Linked DNA regions of Homo sapiens: region 2 is linked to region 1. Evidence: promoter capture Hi-C in human tissues and cell types (Jung and others, 2019). All regions are on one chromosome and are shown on one strand. Each heading gives the region's core, a stretch centred on a gene start or on the middle of the fragment in contact. The rest is flanking DNA. Distances are from core to core; before and after follow the strand shown. Region 1 holds the start of ZBTB8B (zinc finger and BTB domain containing 8B). Region 2 holds the start of LOC102723870 (a long non-coding RNA gene).

Region 1 (5,237 bases), core at 1,983-4,482:
TCCTGATTTCTTACCTTCCTGATTGCAGCAAAAATGGGTAGCTACCCTGTTGGGACAGTTTGGAGTCATCCCTGCAGAGTCATTCTCTAGCCTCCCTGATAATTTGTATTACTTAATTCCTTATATGAATTCTTTTCTGTTTAAACTAGCCAGGTTGCTTTTTGCTTAAACTAGCCAGGTTGGTTTTAACTGAACCTTGAAAAATATACTGAAGTTCAGAGCATCTAACACTAAAGGTTGTGCTGGTCTTGGTGGCGAGAGTAAGTCCCACAGCAGACCACAACAGATCTAGAGATCATAAGGCCTCTAACATTTCCTATGCCTAGTTGTCAGGGGCATGTCCTATGCAGGCCACCCCAAAAAGCCCTTTTACGTTAGCAGTCTGGAATGTTACTAGGTCATCCAGTACAGGTTGCGTGTGCCATAGTCATAAAATTTGGGACCTGAAACTTGGAGCCTGGATGCAGGAGATGTGGAATGAATACTAGGGTGAGTTCCAGGTACAGTCATAATTAAGGTGAAGGCATCAGTGACATGACTTCCCAGGTAAGAAGATACAAAAGGCTGAGCCCAGAGAAGCTTGGTGCTCCTCACTTCTGATGCTTTCTCTGCTGCTATGATGATCAAAAGTCCTCAGCACCTGAGCTGGCCTTTGGGAACCAGGTGGCAAGGACAGCCACACTAACAGGAAAGATGTAACTGCTGCTGTCCCTCTCTGGGTATCCAGCTTTACAAGAAATAGGTAAACTACTTTTCTTTGATAGATAGTATAGTGGTGTTTGGCTGACATTTTACCTTCTAAAATTATTAAGTTATCTTTAGAGTGAACTGCAATTACATTTTTGACAAGCTCTAAAATATATCCTAAACAAACCCCTCCATCTCTACCACCTCTACCCTATCCCCAGTTATCAGCATCTATCAGCAGGGGAGAGATCATATCTTATCTCTTCCCTGCTTAAGATCCTTCGAAGGTGTCCCTTCACATTCATAAGAAAAAATCCAAACTCCTTAAGGTGGCCTACAAATTCCTACATAATCTGGCCTTTGCTTCTCTATCCATTCATATTTCCTGTCGCTTGGACTGGCTACATAATTTGTGGGGCCCAATGCAAAATGAAAATGCAGAGCTCCTTGTTCAAAAACTACTAAGAATTTTAAGAGGGCAATGGCAGAGCATTAAACCAGGCATCAGCCCTTTCCTTTTTTTTAATTTTTAAAATATTTATTTAGATTTTCTTTTTGTTAGTAATTAAATCTTTCTTCTTCTTCTTCTTCTCCTCCTCCTCCTTCTCCTTCCTCTCCTTCCTCTTCCTCTTCTTCTTCTTCCCTCTTCCCTCTCTCCTCCTCCTCGTCCTCCTCCTCCTTGAAACAGTGCAGTGGCACAATCTCAGCTCACTGCAACCTCCACTTTCCATGTTCAAGTGATTCTCATGCCTCAGCCTCCCGAGTAGCTGGGATTACAGGTATGTGTCACCATGCCCAGCTAATTTTTGTATTTTTAGTAGACACTGGGTTTTGCCATGTTGGCCAGGCTGGTCTCAAGTGATCCGCCCGCCTCAGCCTCCCAAAGTGCTGGGATTACAGGTGTAAGCCACCGCACCTGGCTCTTTTTTTGTTTTGTTTTGTTAAGTATAAAACCTCACCTGGAAGCACCAGCCCTTTCTGAGTGTGCGGGCCTGTGCCACTGCGTGGGTTGCACGTCCATTAAGCTGGTCTACCTGCCATCCACTTCCTCAACCCAATGGCATTCTCCTGTTTCTTAGATATGTACCAACCGGTTTTCTGTTTTATCTTAGCATGGCTCACTACTCCTCATTAGGGTCTCTCAGCGAAGGGGGTAGCCTTTTTTTTTTTTTTTTTTTTTTTTGAGACAGAGTCTTGCTCTGCTGCCCAGGCTGGAGTGCAGTGGCCAGATCTCCACTCACTGCAATCTCTTTGGTTCAAGCATTCTCCTGCCTCAGCCTCCCAAGTAGCTGGGATTACTGGCCCACGCCCGGCTAATTTTTGTATTTTTAGTAGAGATGGGGTTTCACCATGTTGGCCAGGCTGGTCTCGGACTCCTGACCTCAGGTGATCCACCCGCCACCACTCCAGCCTGGGCAACAGAGTCTGAGACTCCGTCTCAAAAAAAAAAAAAAAAAAAAAAAAAAAGTCATACTGGCATAGAGTGAACCCCTAATCCAATATGACTGGTATCCTTATAAAAATACTTTTTTTTTGGAGACGGAGTCTCTCTCTGTCGCCCCAGGCTGGAGTGCAGTGGCGCGATCTCGACTCACTGCAACCAAAAGGAGACATTTTGACATGGAGACATATACAGGGAATATGCCCTGTGAACATGAAGATGGCCATATGCAAGCCCAGGAGAGAAGCCTGGAAGAGACCGTTTCCTCACAGCGCTCAGAAGGAAAGAACCCTGCCAACATCTTGCTTTCAGATGCCCCCAGGATTGTCAGACAATAAGATCTGTTATTGACGCCACCGGGTTGGTGATACTTAGGTACAGCAGCCCTAGCAAACGAATACACCCCCATGAGAACTAAGCTCCCTGAGAGCGGTAAGCTGCCTTGTCTTGCTCACAGCTGACAAGAACACGCCTGTACGGTCACTTAGCACCTAGTACTGCCATTTAACCGTTTCACTAGTATGTATGAACCGGAGAGCCTGTCAAGGGAAGAGCTGAATCTTTTATCTTTTGTAACGACTACCCAGTGAAAGAAACCGCGGGTATGCAATAAAAACCTGTTGAATCGATTAAACCATTTCCCTTATTTCCAGATTTTTGCGGAAAGCGCCAGTAGGTGAAATATGTGCGGACTGATGAGTCAAAGCTCTTATTCCCTGGACTGCATTAATACCCACGACGTGCTTTTCGCTCTCCAGACAAAGAGACCGGTACTTGGCAGGTCCCTCAAGTGGGACTCAAAAGACCGAACCGAGCTGCAGCCTTTCGCTAGCACTGGTCCTCGCCCCTTTTGGCATCTTGGTACTTGTAGTTTTGTCCACTCTATCTTTACCCGAAAAGCCAGCGCTGAGACCACAACTCCCATCACCCTGCGAGCACCAGCGCCTTCAGAGCGCATCCTCCGAGGGGCACCAGCGCCATTGACCACCCTGCTGGCCGAAGGGCCCGCCTTCCCGAGGCCAGGCGCTCCCGCGATTGGCCAGCCGCCCCGCCTCTCATCGGAGGGCGCCAGGTGAATGAAAGGGGGGCGTGTCGGTGCGCGGTGCTCCGTGGCTGCGCTGCTGGAACCCGCTGGAAGGTGAGCGCGAAGAAGCGGGTTGGCGCTGCCGCTTTCGTTGGTTTGGGGAGGATTCCTAGCACCCGGGAGGCTGGCTGGAGATTGGGGTTAGCGGGCAGGGTTGCCCCCACTCAGTCATCCTCCTTCGGACCGCTTGGCCCTGGCAACTCCTGGGACCTCCGCCCCGCGAGCCCTTCTAGCGTGGGGAGGGGCAGGCGCGGCCGTGGGGCCCCAGCTTCCCTGTCATTGGGTGTCCTCCGCGTCGTCCAGCCGGGGGTCGCGGCGCCGACTACTTCCACGGTGAATGGTGCCCAGGCGTGGGGGGCTCGGCCACACTGGAGAAGTGCCAGCGGCAGCGATGGCCACTTTGTCCGCGGGAGGCCATGGGAGGGGCTAGGCCTTGGGGTCCCACCCTCGGGGGCCGTGCCCTGTAGCTGGTTCTGGTGGCCTCTCTGCAGGTCGTCTGATGCTGGACGGGGGAGGGTCTGTCTTGCGAGCAGTTTAGATGCAGTTGACCCTGAAATTCTTCGTATGGAAATGGAAACTTCTCCAGTGTCCTTCTCCTCCGATCCATGCCTAAAAGAAAGGAGTGACTTCCCCAACCTGTCGCATCGTGTCCTGGAGGGTTTGAGGAGGCCGGTTAGCATAGTGGTTAAGGATGTCAACCCGGGAGTCAGTCGGATCTCTGTTCTATTACTAACTTGGTGATGTTATCTGCATCTTTGAATCTCAGTTCCTCCTCTGAAAAAGAGGATGTAGTTAGAGTATCTGTCGTACTGGATTATTGTGAGGTGAAAACTAATGTGCTTGTAAAAGCCAGGCATGGTGGCGCGCACCTGTAGTCCCTGCTACTCGGGAAGCTAAGGTTGGGAGGATCTCTTGAGCCCAGGAGTTCCAGGCTGCATTGAGGTAGGATCGTGCACTCCAACCTGGGCAACCGAGCAAGACCGTGCCTTTTAAAAATTTTAATTTAAAAAGTAAAATGAATATGCTTGTACTTTGTACAGTGTTTTATAAGGAATAGTGCTTAATATTTACTAAAATTGAGGAGCAGGTTTTTGTTATTCTCAGGTTGGTGGGACTGGAGGAGTCTTGTCAGAAAGGGTCGGAGGTGGAATTCAAGGCTGCTTTTGGCCTCTGAACAGAGACAGTTGTGTGATCTGGCTAGGACTCCCTCAAGGGTATATGAGAGTTTGTATTGCAGGTAGTTGTGTTGGCATCTGCTGTCTCCTGGAGGACAGGCACTATACTTGGTTCATTTTTCTATTCCTGGCATCTTCCTTGTGTCAGGCATTGTATGTAGCCGGTAACCGTTGAATTGAGTTGGAACCGTGGGATGGTTGGGAGGTTCCCTGCCAGAGTGCGGATAAATGTGCTTCTGAGAGCAGTCTGCCCTAAGAGCTGCTCTTCTGGGATAAGTGGTGATCCTCAGCACTTCCCGGGGCAGCAGAGCACTTCAGGCAAATGGGGGTGATATAAATAAATATTTACACAATATATACCAAGTACAGGATTGGGGAAAATTTTGAAGAAAATACTATACGGATAGACTTTTGCAACGTCAGGAAGTAGAATAAAAATAATTGCAATAGAATAAAAAATAATTTCAGTAAGAAAGCCAAAAGAAATTGGTTTTAGGTGCTATTTCTGGAAAGGAGGCTTTTCCAGTGAAAGACGGAAGTGCCCTGGGAAGAGCCCCTATAGATCAGACCATACTACAAGTTAAGAAGTGTTGTGCGTACTTACATATTTATCTACCTGGCTTACCAACTCCTTACCCCTCTGCCCTGCCTCCTTTTTTTCTTAGTTAACAAAGAAAAAAGCCAAGGCAGAAGGATCACTTGAGTCCAGGAGTTCAAGACCATTGAGACCAGCCAGGGCAACATAGTGAGACCCCATCTCTACAAAAAAATGTTTTCAGAATTAGCTGAGTGTGGTGCTGCATGCCTGTAGTCACAGCTACTTGGGAGGCTGAGGTAGGAGGATTGCTTG
Region 2 (5,237 bases), core at 1,055-3,554, 150 kb after region 1:
ATTTTAAACTTTTTCTGTATACTGAGGAAAAAGTCCACAAAAAACCCAGGAGTTGAAAACCCCAGCTGAAAGTATTAGCACCACGTGTTAAAAAATGAAGGCCTTGAGATATGGCCACATTGGTTCACTCCTGTAATATCAGCGCTTTGGGAGGCTGAGGTGGGAGAATCACTTGAGGCCAGGAGTTCGAGGCCAGCCTGGGCATCAGTGACATTCTACCTCCACCAAAAAAACCCAAAAAATTAAAATTAGGCGGGCATGGTGGCACAGGCCTGTAGTCCCAGCTATTTGGGAAGCGAAGCTGGGGCGGGAGGATCCCTTGAGCCCAGGAATTCAAAACTGCAGTGAGCTATGATTGCGCCACTGCACTCCAGCCTGGGCCACATTGTGAGACACTGTCTATTAAAAAAGTAACAAATAGATAAAAAAGCCTGGGTTTTTTCTCCCTAAACAATGGATATCACGTTCAAGCAAGTGAACCCTCTATAAACCATGACTTTATATATTATTTTCAGGGATGACTATGCCAGTGAGCGAGATTAAGGGGTAGAAACTCTTCCTTTTCAGTCCTGTTTTTCGTCACAACTACTTTTCCTGGAAAGTTATTCAGTCTAACAGCTAGACCCCCCTTCCCCCACCGCCCCCGTCGGAGAGGCCTGGGATTTACCAGACACTCCTAAAGCTAGATTAGCTAGACTCTGGGGGCGATAGGGGGAAATAGGCATTTTTCTGTCGTGTGTAGTGGACGCCTTATAAAAAGCCCACATTTGGCCCGGCGCAGTGGCTTACGCCTGTAATCCCAGCACTTTGGGAGGTCGAGGCCGGCGGATCACCTGAGATCAGGTCAGTCTGGCCAACATCGTGAAACCCCGTCTCTACTAAAAATACAAAATTAGCAGAGCGTGGTGGTGGGCGCCTGTAATCCCAGCTACTCGGGAGGCTGAGGCAGAAGAATCACTTGAACCCGGGAGGCGGAGGTTGCAGTGAGCCGAGATCATGCCATTGCACTCCAGCCTGGGCAAAAAGAGCAAAACTCCATCTCAGAAAAAAAATATAAAAATAAATTAAAAAATAAAAATAAAAAGCCCACATTTGCCAGGCACCGACTAGATCCAGCACCGTCCTCATTTAAAACAGTTGGACTTGGGGGGTTGTGCACTGGAATGACTAACCTGGAAGCCACGCCACGACTCAGGGGCGGAGGGGACTCGAATCCGCGCGATCAGATGCCGCCGCAGGTGCTTAAGACCTGCAGCCTACAGAGCAAGCCTATCTTATCCCCACTTTAGGAAAAGTTGTCTGGTGTTACTTAAGGTTATGACATTGTGCTCTGTGAAGTCACTTGCGTCCCCGACACCTCCCAACTCAGCTGGGACTGGCCAGTGCCCTGCTCCCTGACCTCGCCGCGGCGGCCAGTAGGAGGTGTCGGCGCCCCAGGAGTCCGCGGCCGAGCCAATGGGAGCCGCGAGAAGGGCCGGGGCGGAGCCTGGACGCGTGATGCCAGGGAACCACTCCCGTGGGATTTGGCCAGAGGCATCTCACTGGCGTCCTGTCGCCCAGGCTGGGGTGCAGTGGCTCGATCTCAGCTCACTGTGACCTCTGCCTCCCGGGTTGAAGCGATTCTTCCGCCTCAGCCTCCCTAGTATCTGAGATTATGGGCGTGCGCCACATGCCCGGCTAATTTTTTTGTATTTTTATTAGAGACGAGGTTTCACCATGTTGGCCAGACTGGTCTTGAACTCCTGGCCTCATGTGATCCACCCACCTCGCCTCCCAAAGTGCTGGGATTACAAGCGTGAGCCACCGCGCCTGGCCTGAAGTGCAGGCTTTTGAATATAGATGCTCAACGAAGATATGGGAGAAAGAAAGCTAGATTAGCACAGGAAAAAGCCACAGTAGATAAGTAGGAGACGGGAAATAAGTCTGGAGAAGAGAAAGGAGAGGGAAAAGCAGAAACGAGTGACTCAGCCTGCCCAGCTTAATAAACTAAGATTCTAGCTACCATGTCACTTGTGCAGATGGCACGGGCTCCCAGGGTTGTCTCTAGAATGATGACACCCCTTCACCAAGCACTGTGGACCTTCTTTAGAATTAAAGAGGGGGCTGGACACAGTGACTGACGCCTGTAATACCAGCACTTTGGGAGGAGGAAGTGGAAGGATTGCTTGAGGCCAGGAGTTTGAGACCAGCCTGGGCAAAATACTGCCTTTGCAAAATTATGACTGAGACAGTGGAAAGAGATCTAACCTGACTCCATCTTGCTTCTAACCTCCAAGCTATCCTTGTTCATTCCTGGGTGGAGGCTGAACTAACTTCGGGAGAAACTTATAGTTTATAGTTTAAAACAAAGATGATAACAGCCCTTTCCCAAAACAAACCTCCTTGCCTGGGGACTAGGCTGCCTTTGTAGGACTAAGAAATTAGCCACAAGATTAGAAATTATGGTTTAGGATTCATGCAGCTGGAGGTTACAAAATCTTGACCCTCCCTAAACTGCTCTTCAGATCAGTGTTTGAGATATTTTGCAGACCCTGCACTTGATGGATCAGCTGGGACCACCCAGATCGATAAACTGGCTCATCTGATCTTGTGACCCCCCCCCCCCCACACCTAAGAACTGACTTAGCGCAAGAAGACAGCTTCCACTCCCTATGATTTCATCTGTGACCTGACCAATTAGCACTCCCGGCTCACTGGTTTCCCCCCACCCACCAAGTTGTCCTTAAAAACTCTGATCCCCAAATACTGGGCAAACTTAATTGAGTCATAATATAACTCTGGTCTCCCGCAGAGCCAGCTCTGCGTGAATTACTCTTTCCCTATTGCAATTCCCCTGTCTTCATAAATCGCCTCTGTCTAGGCAGCAGGTAAGGTGAACCCACTGGGTAGTTATACTGTCTCCCAAAAAAACAGCAGTCAGGCATAGTGACACATGCCTGTAGTCCCAGCCACTCAGGAGGCTGAGGCAGGATGATCACCTGAGCCCAGGAGTTTAAGGCTGCAGTGAGCTATGATCATGCCACTGTACTCCGAGCAACAGAGCCAGACTTTCTTTCTGAAAAGAAGGCTGGGCACGGTGGCTTACACCTGTAATTCCAGCACTTTGGGAGGCCGAGGTGGGCGGATCACCTGAGGCCAGGAGTTCCAGACCAGCCTGGCCAACATGGTGAAACCCTGTCTCTACTAAAAATACAAAAATTAGCCGGGTGCGATGGCACATGCCCATAGTCCCAGCTACTTGGGAGGTGAGGTAGGAGAATCACTTAAACCCAGGAGGTGGAGGCTGCAGTGAGCCGAGATCGCACCACTGTACTCCAGCCTGGGTGACAGACTGAGACTGTCTCAAAAAAAAAAAAAAATGTTATGCCAGAGTCAGATTGGAAAGTAAGTCATGATATATAGGGTTAAATAAAACTCATCTGATGAAAATTTATGGTTTGTAGGGCATGATTCCCCAGACCCCTTAGATAGGAATTTGGGCAAGAAAAAAAATCAGAGCCTAGTCCTCAGAGCCCATGACTATAATGTCTTTAGTGTTTATACTGGGAGGTAGTTTATTATTATATTATGTTATATTATATTATATTATATTATATTATATTATATTATATTATATTATATTATATTAATTTCATTTTATTTTTTAGACGGAGTCTCGCTCTGTTGCCCAGGCTGGAGGGCAGTGGTGCAATCTTGGCTCACTGCAACCTCTGCCTCCTGGGTTCCAGCGATTCTCCTGCCTCAGCCTCCCGAGTAGCTGGGATTACAGGCGCGCACCACCATGCACGTTTGGGAGGCCAAGGCAAGTGGATCACGAGGTCAGGAGATTGAGACCATCCTGGCCAACATGGTGAAACCCCATCTCTACTAAAAATACAAAAAATTAGCCAGGCATGGTGGTTGGTGCCTGTAGTCCCACCTACTTGGGAGGCTGAGGCAGGGGAATCACTTAAACCCAGGAGGCGGAGGTTGCAGTGAGCCAAGATCACGCCATTGCACTCCAGCCTGGCGACAGAGTGAGACTCTGTCTCAAAAAAAAAAGAATCTTGTGTAAATACATTGACTAGAGTCTGAAGTCCCAAGTCTGCCTCTTATAGCCAGATAGTCTTAGTTGTCACTAATTTCCTCATTAATAAAAAGTAGAATAAATGTACTACATGTAAAATTGCCGGTATGACAAATGGGTAACATTTTCCAGATGGAAGCACCTAGAAAAATGTTTTGTACAGTGGAGACCTGGATATGCATTTATGACAAAATAAATGTTGGTTCATTCTTTTTTTGAGATGGAGTTTCGCTCTTGTTGCCCAGGCTGGAGTGCAGTGGTGAGATCTCAGCTCACCGCAACCTCCACCTCCCAGGTTCAAGCGATTCTCCTGCCTCGGCCTCCCTAGTAGCTGGGATTACAGGCATGTGCCACCACGCCCAGCTAATTTTGTACTTTTAGTAGAGACGGGGTTTCTCCACGTTGGTCAGGCAGGTCTCAAACTCCCAACCTCAGGTGATCCACCTGCCTCGGCCTCCCAAAGTGCTGGGATTACAGGCATGAGCCACTGCACCTGGCCATAATGTTGGTTCATTCTAAAAGCACACTCTTGCATGTCCAGAATTTAACATTAAGCAATTACTTATATGTAAATTTTTTTTTTTTGAAAAGGAGTTTCGCTCTTGTCGCCCAGGCTGGAGTGCAATGGTGTGATTTTGGCTCACTGCAACCTCCACCTCCCAGGTTCAAACAATTCTCCTGCCTCAGCCTCCAGAGTAGCTGGGATGACAGGCGCCCGCCACCATGCCCAGCTAATTTTTGTATTTTTAGTAGAGATGGGGTTTCACCACGTTGGCCAGGCTTGTCTCGAACTCCTGACCTTAGGTGATCCACCTACCTCAGCCTCCCAAAGTGCTGTGATTACAGGCATGAGCTATCGCGCCAGGCCACTTATAGGTAATTAAACAAAAAAAATGTACATAGCACATTAGGAAATCATACTGATACAGTAATACAGTCACTAAATTCTGACAGTTTGCTCTGGAAGAGCTTTTGGAGGATATCTTTTCCAATGTCCTCGTTTCTGAAGTGAGGAAACTAAATTCTCAGTCTCATAGTTTCTCTGCGGCAAAGCTAGTATTGTTGAAATCATTCAGGGCTTCTTACTGGGCAGAATCTGGTAATCCCCAAGCCTTCTGCAGGTCAGATTGGGTGAGGGAGTAGCCCCAGTAGTTCATGATGGCACTGCTCC

What was found. Contacts are between HindIII fragments. The study calls those that stand out against the background at their distance.
Region 2: a contact is called between a fragment that was not itself captured here and the fragment with the promoter of ZBTB8B in region 1, in 1 of the 25 tissues and cell types used here (aorta).

The regions. Positions count from the first base shown.
Region 1 is chr1:32,461,840-32,467,076 of GRCh38, forward strand. ZBTB8B (zinc finger and BTB domain containing 8B) reads left to right here and starts at 3,233. Exons shown (of 4, transcript NM_001145720.2): 1 at 3,233-3,266. The HindIII fragment of the contact is 24,686 bases long and covers 1-5,237 here.
Region 2 is chr1:32,610,871-32,616,107 of GRCh38, forward strand. LOC102723870 (a long non-coding RNA gene) reads right to left here and starts at 1,620. Exons shown (of 3, transcript XR_426677.5): 1 at 1,173-1,620. RefSeq lists an enhancer at 1,136-1,637 and a silencer at 1,406-1,515. The HindIII fragment of the contact is 6,500 bases long and covers 1-5,237 here.